Regions from separate parts of the Homo sapiens genome. Here region 1 is linked to region 2. The links are contacts of gene promoters, found by promoter capture Hi-C in human tissues and cell types (Jung and others, 2019). All regions are on one chromosome and are shown on one strand. The core of a region is centred on a gene start or on the middle of the fragment in contact, and the rest is flanking DNA. Distances in the headings are between cores, read along the strand shown.

The links. The method cuts DNA at HindIII sites, captures the fragments that hold promoters and counts their contacts. A contact is called where the count stands out against the background at its distance.
Region 1: a fragment that was not itself captured here is called in contact with the fragment with the promoter of CTCF in region 2 in 1 of the 25 tissues and cell types used here (spleen).

The regions. Positions count from the first base shown.
Region 1 is chr16:67,819,864-67,826,853 of GRCh38, reverse strand. It overlaps TSNAXIP1 (translin associated factor X interacting protein 1), which reads right to left. Exons shown (of 16, transcript NM_001288990.3): 3 at 5,903-6,015; 4 at 5,629-5,755; 5 at 3,135-3,228; 6 at 2,075-2,271; 7 at 1,582-1,717; 8 at 1,018-1,187; 9 at 778-937; 10 at 572-702; 11 at 292-417; 12 at 10-162. Among named protein-coding and RNA genes, the nearest start is that of TSNAXIP1, 16 kb to the right of the region's middle. RefSeq lists an enhancer at 504-1,364. The HindIII fragment of the contact is 3,588 bases long and covers 1,365-4,952 here.
Region 2 is chr16:67,560,120-67,566,929 of GRCh38, reverse strand. It overlaps CTCF (CCCTC-binding factor), which reads right to left and starts at 4,404. Exons shown (of 12, transcript NM_006565.4): 1 at 4,206-4,404. CTCF-DT (CTCF divergent transcript) reads left to right here and starts at 4,621. Exons shown (of 1, transcript NR_158165.1): 1 at 4,621-5,519. LOC124903703 (a long non-coding RNA gene) reads left to right here and starts at 3,480. Exons shown (of 2, transcript XR_007065094.1): 1 at 3,480-3,635. RefSeq lists silencers at 3,333-3,432, 3,953-4,962 and enhancers at 3,186-4,048, 5,193-5,242, 5,263-5,312. The HindIII fragment of the contact is 9,573 bases long and covers 1-6,810 here.

The DNA.
Region 1 (6,990 bases), core at 1,909-4,408, 260 kb before region 2:
CCAGCTCACCTTTCCCATCAAGACTGCATAGAACTGACTCATAACCTCGTTGGAGTGGAAGATCTTGATATTTTCAAAAATAGTATAAGCCCAGGCCATGGCATCACTGGGCCCAAAGCGATGCTCCAGGAAATTGAAGAAGAAATCTGGGAACGTCTCTTTCTGCGGGATCGAGGAAATGCTCAGTCAGAGTCTTACGGTTGGTTGGCCCTCATCCCTGTCACCTCTGGACCTGCAGAGGACTCTGGATCTGAAGACCATGCTGGGCCAGAGTGGCTGGTGAGATCTGACCTGCTCCTCAGCAAGACGTTCCTTCCAGGCATCCTTGAGGAGGTTGACCACGTCCTTCTTGCTTGGCTTCTTGTTCTCCACGAGGCCATCAAACCGAAGAAAAGCAGGGATGGCTTCCCCATAGCCCTAGGAGGGAGGATATCAGCTCATCTCTGGACCCATCTGTGGCCCCACCCCCAATCAGGGAAGATCCCCAGTTGGTTCCCCAAAAGCTTGTCTGAGCAGCAGGGCATGGCTGTTCTGACTCTGGCCCAAGCCCCACTCCTGGGGCCTCCCCTACCAGACCAGGGAAGAAGTCTTTCTCCCGCAGCAGCCCCGAACCAATCTCTTCCAGGAGCACGTCCACCAGCTGGTCGCTGTTCTTGCCCTCAGCCAGCATCTGCCAGCGCTCTGGGCCCCCAGCCACCACATCTGCATGTGGGGAGAGGGAGCTGGAGTCTGGGCCCACATGTAAGCAGGACCTGGGGCCCTGCCGGCTGCCCTCACCTTTGCACTTGGTCCAGTCAGGCCGCGGCGTGGAAGTGCGCTGGATCTCCTGCAGCTCAGAGAAGAATTGGTCCCGTTCCTTCAGCGTGCTCATGTGCAGCTGCATGAGGATCTCATGCTCCTTGCGAACCTCCTCGTAGCTGGCTCTCAGGGTGTCCAGCTGTGGGCAAGGACATTGGCCCTGGCCCCCCACCTGTGAGACCCCGTCCTACCCTCCTGGCCCTGCCTGCCTGCCAGCACCTGCTCCTGAAGATCCTTGTTGGTCTTCTCCTGCATTTCAAAGTCCCTCCTGGGGACCACATCTCCAAAGTTGGCCTTCATGTTGTTGAGTTCCATCTGCGTGCGGGTCAGGTCTTGCCGGGTCATCTTAAGAGCCAGGGTTAACTTCACAGGGTCCTCCCCCCAGATGCCTGCCAGGGGAAGGGGCCCACCAGCCCGTGTCACCGTGGCTTTCTCAGGGGTTGCCTGAAGCCCTCTGCCCTTCCTGTTTGGGGTTCCCTGGTTCTTGCCCACAGCACTACCAGCCTAGGGTTTCAGGCTAAAGTCTAGAAGCCCAGGAAACTGAGTACCAGGCCTGTCCAGCCCACTGGGAGCCTAGGCTGCCTCAGCTACCAACTGTGTTCCTACAATTCTCAGTTCAACTCAGAAGATACACAGCCCTGCGGGAGGCAGGGACATCTCCCCTCTGAATGGTTATGGAATGAGCAGGTCTTAGGAATGCTGAATGAATGGGGCTTAGGGGTGAGACCAGAGTCTTCCAGCGTCTCAGAGAAGAGAGAAACCCGATTCCCAATTCAGGCTTACCTGGCGACTGGGCTAATGACATGTCCTCCCGCTGGTACCGCAGCTCATTCAGGTCTGCGATGAGGATCTTACAGGCATCTCGCTCACTGAGGTAGTGCAGGTACTCCTCAGCCAAGTTCTTCCTCAGTTTGGTCACCTGGCAAGAAGGTGGCTGTGTGGTCAGGGGCTGCCCCTGGACCCCTGTATGCAGCTGGTCACCCCAGGGAGTGGGCTGGGTTCTGGGGGGCCCCATCAGGGACTGTGAACAGGAAAGGTGAAAGAAGAAGGAGATTGGCCATTTCTGAGAATTCGGCAAGGTGCCAATGTTTCCCCCTGTGGGGAAAGTACTGAGCCTAGCAGCAGGGCAGAGGGTGGAGTTAGCAAGGCTCTGGGGGAAGGTGGTGGCTCAGTGTGTCACTCTCCGTAGAAAGGCAGAGCAGGGTAGGGGGTCACCCTTGTCGTGGAGTTGGCAGGAATTCGGGGACTTGGTCATCATCACACCACTTCCATTCACCTCGCTCTGCAATGAAATCTTCTCCTCATTCTTTTTGTCGATGAGTTTTAGCAAGTTCATCTTCTCTTTCTTGAGCAGGGAGATTTCATATTTCTCCTCAGCTCTCATGGCCAGGATCCTCTCATTGCAGTCCTCATTCACAGTGACAAGCTTGGCCTTCAGGGGCTCCAGAGCCCGAATCTTCTCCCTTTGGTGGGCTAAGCAGAGACAGGTGGGAGAGCTGCTTTGGGGCCATGGAGAACAAACAGCCAGAAGACACCCTAAGGTCATGGGTGAGTGGCTATGTCGCTTGCAAACCCCAAGAATCTCTGCATGCCTTGTTCAAAGCCATGGTCCCTGTTTCAGGCCTTCCTGCACTTGATTTTAAACAAAGGGCAGAGTTCAGATGAAGACCGGGGTCTCTCCTATGTCCTTTCCCCTACAGCCTTAAGTCCTGCAGCTGCACCATGCCCTGCACCTCCTGAGCCTGGCAGGGGAGCCTGCTGACTCCCAGAGGTGCTGACTCTCTCCTGGGGTTCACTCCATTTTCAACAGGGACTGCCCCCCTGTGCTTCTCAATGACAGGTGTTGTCAGGTGCTCTGGGGTGCCCTATCATGGAACAGTCTGTGCAGAATGGCTGAGGGGCCTTGGTGACCTCAAGGCCCAGTTGGTAGCTGCCCCAGCCCTGCTGTGGAGCACCAGAAGGTCGAATAGGATCTTCTCCACCCCTTCCAGGCTGGGACAAGGAGGGGAGCTGCATTCTTTTTTTTTTTTTTTTTTTGCGATGGAGTCTTGTTCTTTTGCCCAGGCTGGAGTGCGGTGGTGTGATCTCAACTCACTGCAACCTCCACCTCCTAGGTTCAAGCAATTCTCCTGCCTCAGTCTCCCAAGTAGCTGGGATTACAGGTGTGTGCCACCATGCGCAGCTAATTTTTTTGTGTTTTTACTAGAGACAGGGTTTCACCATGTTGGCCAGGCTGGTCTCAAACTCCTGACCTCAAGTGATCTACCGCCTCGGCCTCCTAAAGTGCTGGGATTACAGGCGTGAGCCACTACGCCTGGCAGGAGGTGCATTCTTACCCAGCATCCCCTCATACGCATTCTTGATGGAGGATAGTAATGGCTTGTACGTTTTGAAGTCCTCTATGAAGAACTCAAAGATCTCTCTGTAAGGCTGGCAAGAAAAGGGAACCCATCATCTCCTAGCCCACAGCTGCCAACCTTAGTGGGGAACTGTTTTTCTTTTTCTTTTTTCCTGAGACGGAGTGTCGCTCCATCACCCAGGCTGGAGTGCTGTGGTGCAATCTCAGCTCACTGCAACCTCTGCCTCCCAGGTTCAAGTGATTCTCCTGCCTCAGCCTCCTGAGTAGCTGGGATTACAGGCACGCGCCACCACACCTGGCTAATTTTTGTATTTTTAGTAGAGATGAGGTTTCACCATGTTGGCCTGGATGGTCTCGATCTCCTGACCTCGTGATCCACCCACCTCGGCCTCCCAGAGTGCTGGGATTACAGGTGTGAGCCACTGTGCCTGGCACTGTTTTTTTCTTTACTGGGCTTAGCAGTATTCCAGCATGAGGCTGCCAGGTCACTTATATTCAAGTAAATGCCCTAGATACCACCCGGGTACCTCACAGTGCCACGGAGCCTGGGGGGCAGCTCTCTGGAGGCCTGTCCTGATGCTGTCTCTGAGGCCTAGTGGACTGCCATGACCATAGACAGACATCCACTCTGTGCCTGAGCCCCTCTCTGGCTCTCCAGGCAGCCAGCCTCTTGCCTTCTAGACACTGCATCATTGGCCTCTCACTTGTAACCTCTCCCCATCTTAGAGCCTGGTAGATTCAGGAGATTGAAGGTTGTACCCTTGCATCCTGACATGCAAGTAGGGGTGTGGTCTTCTGTCCCATTTGGACACATGGGAGGTTTCTGGAGGCAGCATTGCTCACTGAAATGAGCACAGTCTCCAGAGTCAGCCCTGAGTTTGAAGCCCAGCCCCACTACGCCATAGTGGTATGCTTTCTTCCTTATCTGTTCAGGAGATCGATGTAAGGCCCCAGCCCAGGGCCTTGCACTTGCACATAGCCAGTGCTCAGTAAATGCTTTAGTCAATGACTAAGTCAAAAGGCAGGGATTCTCTGTCATCATCCTTGTTTAAGCAGATTTGGTGATTCTCTCCCTACTATACACTGGTATCTGGGTTGGATCTGATCTCTCTCTCTCTCTCTCTCTCTCTTCCTCCCTCCCTCCTTATGCATCTGTGCTGGTTCCTTAAGCTTGGGGTTGTTGCCACTGGACTGGTAAACACGGTGTGACCCCTGCTTGCCCAACTGCCAGCATTCAGGCTACGTTCACTGATGTCCAGTGGCCCAACCTGGGTACTGGGGATCACAGAGCTGCAGGGACTGGGCACAGCATCCAGGCCACCTGACTCAGGTGAGGAAACTCCAGCCTCAGGAGACTTTTGGATCCACATTGCAGCCTTGCCTGCTCACTGGCGTTTTCTTTTTTTTTTTTTTTTTTTGAGATGGAGTCTCACTCTGTTGCCCAGGCTGGAGTGCAGTGGCGTGAACTTGGCTCACTGCAAGCTCCGCCTCCCAGGTTCATGCCATTCTCCTGCCTCAGCCTCCCGAGCAGCTGGGACTACAGGTGCCTGCCACCACACCTGGCTAATTTTTTTGTATTTTTAGTAGAGACGGGGTTTCACCATGTTAGCCAGGATGGTCTCGATCTCCTGACCTGGTGATCCGCCTGCCTCGGCCTCCCAAACTGCTGGGATTACAGGTGTGAGCCACCGTGCCTGGCCTTCTTTTTTCTGTTGACAGAGTCTCACTCTGTTGCCCAGGCTGTAGTGCAGTGGCATGATCTCGGCTCACTGCAACCTCTGCCGCCTGGGTTCAAGCAATTCTCCTGCCTCAGCCTCCTGAGTAGCTGGGACTACAGGTGTGTACCACCACTGCAGGTTTTGTATTTTTAGTAGAGGCAGGGTTTCACCATGTTGACCAGGCTGGTCTTGAACTCCTGACCTCAAGCGATCCTCCTGCCTCAGCCTCCCGAAGTGCTGGGATTACAGGCATGAGCCACTGTGCCCGGCCTCACTGGCATTTTCATGGGATGTTTCATGCTTCTGTTCAGGGAAGGAGACCCAGGAGAGCTGGGAGAGGTGGGTCTCCCCTGAAGGTCTGAGGTGCTCAGTCCTTGTAGGTGAGGCTTTTTTTTGTTTTTGAGACGGAGTCTCACTCTTGTCGCCCAGGTTGGAGTGCAGTGGTGTGATCTTGTCTCACTGCAACCGCTGCCTCCCGGGTTCAGGGTTCAAGCGATTCTCCTGCCTCAGCCTCCTGAGTAGCTGGGACTACAGGTGCCCACTACCATGCCTGGCTAATTTTTGTACTTTTAGTAGAGACGGGGTTTCGCCATGTTGGCCAGGCTGGTCTTGAACTCCTGACCTCAGGTGGTCCACCCGCCTTGGCCTCCCAAAGTGCTGAGATTACAGGCGTGAGCCACTGTGCCCGGCCGGTAGGTGAAGCTTCTTCCCACCCTTCCCCCGCCCTCCCCAAGTTTCTTCTGTGGCTCTGACCTGCAGCCTTAGTTCCTGGGTGGAATCTGTGCCCAGGTCCAGCAGGAGGAGCTCCTTGCGTAGGTAGTTTTCCAGTTCCTCCAAGTACTGGGGCTTGGCAGTGCGAAAGGGGTGCTGCTGGCAGCTCCTGCAGGGGACAGTGGCTGATATGTGGCCAGCACCCCCACGGGGCCCTTGTGCCCTCAGTCTGGGGCAACACACGCCCCTGCCCTGTCTCCTGGCCCAAAGCCTGGCCCATGCCAGCTCACCCACCATGGGACTGACCCTGGCTTACCCTACTCGCTTCCGGTAGTCATCTGAACAGGGTTTTCGATTTTGCAAAATGGTCTGGCCACTGGTGTATGTGGGCCATGGGGACAGGTGCCCACCCATGGAGAACTGACCAGTCTGCAGGGAGGTACAGGTGGGGTTGCCATGGCAACATTGCTCCCCTTCCTAATGTTTCTCTCCATCTCTCCTCCCCCAGTCCTGACTTTTTTTTTTTGAGACAGTCTTGCTCTGTTGCCCAGGCTGGAGTGTGGTGGCACGATCTTGGCTCACTGCAACCTTCGCCTCCCAGGTTCAAGCTGTTCTCTGCCTCAGCCTCCCGAATAGTTGAGATTACAAGCACCCACCACCACACCCATCTAATTTTTGTATTTTTAGTAGAGACGTGGTTTCACCATCTTGGCCAGGCTGGTCTTGAACTCTTAACCTCGTGATCCACCCACTTTGGCCTCCCAAAGTGCTGGGATTACAGGCGTGAACCACTGTGCCTGGCCAGCCCTGATGTGTTTTACAAACATCTCTCAACATGGTTCATAATTAAGACTGTGGGTTCTTGAGTTAGAGAAGACTCGGGTTAAGTCTCAAATGTCCCTTATTAGCTATGTCACAACTTCTCTGAGCCTTAGTTCTCACGTCTGTAAAATAGGGATGATGGTAGTCTTTGTCACAGTGTATTGATGTGAGGATGCAGTGAGAAAGCATAGTCGGGCGCGGTGGCTCACGCCTGTAATTCCCAGCACTTTCGGAGGCTGAGGTGGGTGGATCACGAGGTCAGGAGATCGAGACTATCCTGGCTAACACGGTGAAACCCCGTCTCTACTAAAAATACAAAAAAAAATTAGGCCGGGCATGGTGGCTCACGCCTGTAATCCCAGCACTTTGCAAGGCCAAGGCGGATGGATCACGAGGTCAGGAGATCGAGACCATCCTGGTTAACACAGTGAAACCCCGTCTCTACTAAAAATACAAAAAATTAGCCGGGCGTGGTGTCGGACACCTGTAGTCCCAGCTACTCTGGAGGCTGAGGCAGGAGAATGGCATGAACCCAGGAGGCGGAGTTTGCAGTGAGCCAAGATTGCGCCACTGCACTCCAGC
Region 2 (6,810 bases), core at 3,155-5,654:
CACTCCAGCCTGGGTAAAAGAGAAAGACCCTGTCTTAAAACAAACAAACAAACCCCACAGGCCGGGCACGGTGGCTCACGCCTGTAATCCCAGCACTTTGAGAGGCGGAGGCGGGCAGGTCAGGAGATCGAAACCATCCTTGCTAACACGGTGAAACCCCGTCTCTACTAAAAATACAAAAAATTAGCCAGGCGTGGTGGCAGGCGCCTGTAGTCCTCCCAGCTACTCGGGAGGCTGAGGCAGGAGAATGGCGTGAACCTGGGAGGTAGAGCTTGCAGTGAGCCGAGATCGTGCCCCTGCACTCCAGCCTGGTAGACAAAGCGAGACTCCATCTCCAAAACAAACAAATACCCCACAAGAACAACAAAACAAATGTGGTAAGACTAATCTTTTTTTTTTTTTTTTTTTTTTTTTAATTTTGAGACAAAGTCTCACTCTGTCACCCAGGCTGGAGTGCAACGGCACGATCTTGACTCACTGCAACCTCCGCCTCCCGGGTTCAAGTGATTCTCCTGACTCAGCCTCCTGAGTAGCTGGGATTACAGAAACAGACATATGCCACCACGCTCAGCTAATTTTTGTGTTTTTGGTAAAGATGGGGTCTCACCATGTTGGCCAGGCTGGTCTCAAACTCCTGACCTCAGGTGATCCGCCCGCCTCAGCCTCCCAAAGTGCTGGGATTACAGGTGTGAGCCACCATGTCCCACCTACAAATCACATCAATTGAGAACCATGGTCTTCAAAGTTACACATTATTTGCCATTATTGTTCTTTTTAAATCATAATGCATCTGAGTTGTTTGAAGAGGGGCCTAATTTTTGGCAAAACAGTCAAGTCATCTGGAGCCAAGACAGGTAAATTAGGCAGACAGATGGTCTAGTTTAAAAAAATTAGGTGGAGTCTATAACGTAGATGATGTGGAATGGCTGTGACAGCAGCAGCATCCCTGAAGCAAAAAAAGCAGTCTCTAGAGGTGACTTTTGGCCAGGAGGCACCAGCCTGCAAGGCTCTGCCCAGGATTCCTCCCCAGGGCCTTAAGTCAGCCACAAGTGGCTTCCACCAAGGAACTCCCCAAGCCATTCAGAAGTCCCAGGTGAGTGCCCCCATTTGCGTGTGTACTTTAAAATAAAATCCTAAAGCTCTTAGAATTTGAATGCATCTTAAGGACAACTTCACCTCTTAAATTCTTACATAGGTTGAATGGATCCCGATAAAGTTAACCTTTACAACTACTCTTTTTTTTTTTTTTTTTTTTTGAGATAAGAGTCTTGCTCTGTTGCCCAGGCTGGAGTGCAGCAGCACAATCTCGGCTCACTGCAACCTCCACCTTCTAGGTTCGAGCGGTTCTCCTGTCTCAGCCTCCCTAGTAGCCAGGACTACGGCGTGTGCCACCATGCCTGGCTAATTTTTTGTATTTTTAGTAGAGACAGGGTTTCACTGTGTTAGTCAGGATGGTCTCAATCTCCTGACCTCGTGATTCTCCCGCCTTGGTCACCCAAAGTGCTGGGATTACAGGCGTGAGCCACCGCTCCCAGCCACAACTACTCTTAAATAGGCAGTATTTTCTTATGCAGGCAAACATTCCTGTTTTAATCATCCTCCTATCACTAATTTAAATAACAGGTCCTGGCCTGGCGAGATGGCTCACGCCTGTAATCCCAGCACTCTGGGAGGCTGAGGCGGGTGGATCACCTGAGGTCAGGAGTTCGAGACCAGCCTGGCCAACATCGTGAAAACCCGTCTCTACTAAAAATACAAAAATTAGCCGGGCGTGGTGGCACGGGCCTGTAATTCCTGCTACTTGGGAGGCAGAGACAGGAGAATTGCTTGAATCCGGGAGGCAGAGGTTGCAGTGAGCCGAGATCGCACCACTGCCACTCCAGCCTAGGGGACAGAACGAGACTCCGTCTCAAAAAAAAAAAAAGGTCTGGGTTACCCTAACATATCAATTCATCCTCAATTTATTCTCTCCGTAGATTGTTTTTTAATAAAAACAAAACAAAGCATGATTCCTGGCATATGGGAATTTCAAAGGATAGCAACTGTGTGGAAAAGGTCTATTCCACTAAAACAGCATAAATGACGTATAAACCCAAGAAGCTGATGACTGCATATGAAACAACCAAACCAAGAAGCAAAATATGGTCTATGGAGCACAGTACTAACCCGGGAAAACAAGCTTTACTCCTGGCTCGATTATACACCTGCTGTATTTTAATTTTTAACTCAATGTTGAGCTTATTTAAATAAATAAAACATGCTACTTAACCACAATTTCAAAAGGAAAACAAAGTCACAAAAGAATGCAATAAATTACACAATTGGACTAACATATTAGATAATTAAAGGTGATTCTATTCCCAAGTCTAACTATCAATCAACGCTACTGCATTTAGTTACTCTATGCAATTTTATTGAGGAAGAGGGGTGGCAGGAATATTTTGCAGGGTTCCAAAAGGAGACATAGAAAGCGTGCCTACGAAGAGGACTGCAGTGAGGAGCTACACATTGAGATTACATACAGTGGACTGGACAACTTTGGTTAGGACCAGGCTGTTTAATTTCTTCATAAACTTAACATAGCTTCCTTCCTAAAAACAGGTTAATCCAGACTTTCTTCTCTCCAAAACAACCCGAACTGATACATTAACTGCTGCAATGAACTATATTAAGGCACTAGAATATTTACGGAAAAGCAAAAGACTCCCGCAATTCAACGGGATGCTTTTTAGTGAAGAAAGAAAACTTAAGGACCGAATAAATTTAAATATATGCCTTGTTTAACTTCCTTTCCCACCTATGAGGACTTGGTTTTTAACTTTCCTAGTTGATCGAAACTCAAAGTATGAAGACTACGTATGCGAATGTTTACTTAACGCTGAACTCGGGGCTACAGGAAGTCTCCTACTAAACAGTAGTTACATTAGGCGTAGATATTTATAAACCATCTGCAGCAAGTGACCCAGGATTCAATTACAACATCAACCCTCATATTTCATCGCATGGGCAAATTACCAGTCGAGTCAAGAATAAACTCATTCTGCCCTACTGGCGCTCTAGATCGAGTTGCACAATCCTGGGGCAGAACCGCCTTCACCTAGCCCTAGAGCATCAGGTACTAAGTTAGTGTGAGGACATTTTAAAGCGGGAGGGAAACTCAAGGGACTTAGCCCATACTCCCAAATTCAGAAATTTGTCACGTCACTTGAGATCAGAATGAAATTTAAGTTTCAGTCCCTTTGAGATCTCTGAGCGCACAAAGTCAGGCTGCTATCACTCGGCTGGGGAGTCCGAACCCGGCTGGATAAAAACTACTTGGTGCGGAACTCGCATCTTTTCCGCCCACCGTGGGGGGGCCGCACCGGTCGGGTCCGGCCAGGAACCCGGGCGCGAGTTTGGGGGCGCAGCGGGGGCGGCGAGCGCGCGTCCCCCCGCCCGCTCAGGCAGCGTAGAGGTGCGAGCAGCTCAGCCAGCCTTGCAGAGGGAGCTCTCGGCAGCTCTGGGGTCCCTCTGCTCGCAGCCGCTGCAGCGCCGCCTGCGCCACTCGGCGGAGACGGAGACCAGCGGCGGCGACGCGCGGACTGGGAGCGACCGCCGAGCAGCCAAGCAGCTGGGAAGGCACGCAGGCCGGCAGGGTAGGTTCCGGGGACGGGGCTGGCTGGAGGAGGGGCAGCCCGAGACGCGACGGCCAGGGCCCGACACCCATACGGCACCGGGACCTGGCTTAGCGCGCGGCGGCAGTCGGTCCGAACCCTTAAGCTAGGCGGGCGCCGAAGCCGGGACGCGGAGATAGTGTCTCAGCTGGGGCCACCCGCCGCGGGAGGGGCGGAGGACACAGGACAGAGGGCGGGCCGCGGCCGGGCGATCGGCCGGCCAAGAACCGGCCTCGAGGGCAGACAAAGGAAGGAAAATGGAGTCGCCGGGCGCGCGGGCCTCTGCCTCTGCCGCCGCCCGAGGCCTAGCGCGCTGCCAGGAGGGAGGCCTAGCGGGCGGGCGGGCGGGCGGGCGTGGGGGTGGGGGGGGCGGCCGGGCCACGGCGGCGACGGGCAATGGCGGCGGCCGCGCCGCAGCAGGGACGGTAGAGGGAGACAAACACCCCCCGGCGGCGGCGCTGGCGCCGGGCTGCAGCCAGCGCCGACCGGAGCGGCCCCATCGTGACACCTAGAGGCGGCCCGCGAAACCTCCTCCACCCCGGGCCCCCTTACCTCCGCGCCACACCCCCCGCGGCGCCCGCTCCGCCGCCGCTCCACGGCTCCGGCCACCCGGCGTCTCCGGCGAGCTCCGCGCGTCCGCACCGGCCACCGCCGCCGCCGCTGCCGCCAAAGAAGCAGCTCCGCGCACGGTTTAATCGCTCCACAGGCTCAGACACAAAATGGCGGCGGCGCGGTGCAGTGCGCCTGCGTCGGCGCTGCCGGGGCCGCGGGTGCTGATAAGGGAAGGGACGGGTGGGGGGACCGGCCGGGCGGCGAGTAGAGGGCGGGGGAGGAAAGGTGAGGGGAGGGGTTGGCGCAGGGCAGCATGGGAGGCGGCCCCGGGCGCCAACTTTCAAAAGCGGGCGCGATGGCGTCACGGGACGCGCCGCGAGTCGCGTCGTCACGCCGCACGCGCCCTCGCCGGGTCGCTCGTGGGCTCTGCCGGCGCCGCGGCGTCCTGGCTCCCGCTGGGTGGGGCTTCCTGGGCGGAGGCCGCCGCCCCTGGGCGGTGCCGGATCCAGTCCGCTTGACCTTATTCCCTAGCTGCTGTCTCCGGCCCCCTGAACCCGTACAGGGTTGGGGAAGTGGGGGTGGCTGGAGGAAGCGCGCGCGGGGCAAGCCAGTGGGGCTGAGGAGGCTCCCGGGCCCGGCCCCGCCCAGTCTCCGCCCCAGCCAGGCCCGACCCGCCCTCCGAATGTCTTACAGCTGCCCGCCCCAGAGTAAGGCCCGGTCGGTTCCCGCGCGCTCCCAGCTCCGTGCCCGCGAGCGACGACTGGAAGGGCTGTCCTTGCTCAGCGGCTTTTGGTGATCTCTCCGCCCTAGAAGAGGGCCACCTAAAAGCGGGTGCGAGAGGAGAGTGGGAGGGCCTCCTCTTGGTGTCCCCAGGCCACCTCAGCCCGGAGAGGTGGCGGAAAACCAGACTTGATGCTTTAACACGTTCATAGCAATCGCTTTTTACTGAAAGGAGTTTCTGTATTTAGCGCTGTGTAATTCTGTGGAAACGTGCATTTCTTGTCTTTGCGGGAGAGCTGTTCTCTGTGGGCGGAGACCTTCAGTCCCACCCCTCCCCAGGAGGCGCCTGCGGACCCTTCCCAACCTGCAGTCAAGTTGACCAAGAACTGACTGCAAGGTGCTGGTGGCTCTGGGATGAGAGCCTTTTGGTACTTACAGGGAATATGACTCTTCCCTTAGATATCAAATGGACCCAATATCTAGGGAGCAGCTTCTTCTCCATCCATCTGACCGTTCCGTTGTGAGAATGCTGGCCCAATAACATACTCTTTTTTTTTCCCCTAAAGGAATAAAAAAATCTGTATTTTTAAGATGTCAAATCTCCAGAGTTTTTAGATGTTAGCAACTGAATCAGATGTTTTTAAACTTCATGAGCTGATTAAACCACACAGATGAGCTGTCAGTTTACGACCCCTGGCTTGGCTTGGAGGAAAGAGTGAAGAGAAATTCCATGGCCAAATCCTGGGGCACTCCAATATTGGGAGGGTAATGGAGAAGGAGTCTGAAAGGCAGCATCTAGGAAGTCATGAAAGCTAGCGCTGAGTTGTGGAATCCCTGGGCAGAGAAGGTTTCAGGTAGGAGGCATCAGCTGAGCGGTGTGATAAACTTGGGCCAGAGATGTGGCTATTGGATTGGGTCACCTTGCAAGTCACTGGAGAATGTCACTGATGGCCTTGGCTTGATTCACGTGAGTATATCAGGGAGGTGGACCTGACCGGAATGGGTTAAACAGTCACCAGGAAAGTGAGGAAATGGAGACAGCACATGTATGCAATTTGAGAGAGGTTTTGCTGTGAAGGGACCAGATAAGTTTGGGGATAGATATAGAAAGAAATCTTTTAAAAGATAGTAGGGGCCGGGCGCAGTGGCTCACGCCTGTTATCCTAGCACTTTGGGAGGCCAAGGCAGGTGGATCACCTGAGGTCAGGAGTTCGAGACCAGCCTGGCCAATATGGTGAAACCCGGTCTCTACTAAAAATACAAAAATTAGTTGGGCATGGTATCGCGCGCCTGTAATCCAAGCTACTGGGGAGGCTGAGGCAGGAGAATTGCTTGAACCCGGGAGGCAGAGGTTGCAGAGAGCCAAGATTGGGCCACAGCACTCCAGCCTGGGCAACAAAGCGGGACTCCATCTCAAAAAATAATAATAAATAAAATAAAAGATGGTAGGGTTCCCAGAGCATGTTTATGTGCCATTGGGAGGGATATGGTGGGGAAGAAAGATGGGTGATCCAGGAGAGAGGAGGCTTGCTTGACCTATATAGGAGTGAAATCCATCAGAAGATATAAGGAAACAGGGAGGGTTGACCTTGGAGAGGAACAGGGATGCTTCCATTCATGATAAGGGCAACAAAGGTGAAGACAGATGCAAGTGCAGGGGAGAGGGAAGGCAAGTCCTTAACAGGATTGCCTTGGTGGCATTGGGTACTCATCTGAGGTTTGTGATCATGATGTTAAAGGTAAACCAGTTGGCCCAGTGTGTTGGTTTTTCTCCAACATTCAGCTGCTTGGGTACAGACATGAAGAAAAGGGATAGTACAGCTTCTCAACACCAGGACCCAATTTTTCTCATTTCTTTTTTTTTTTTTTGAGACGGAGTTTTGCT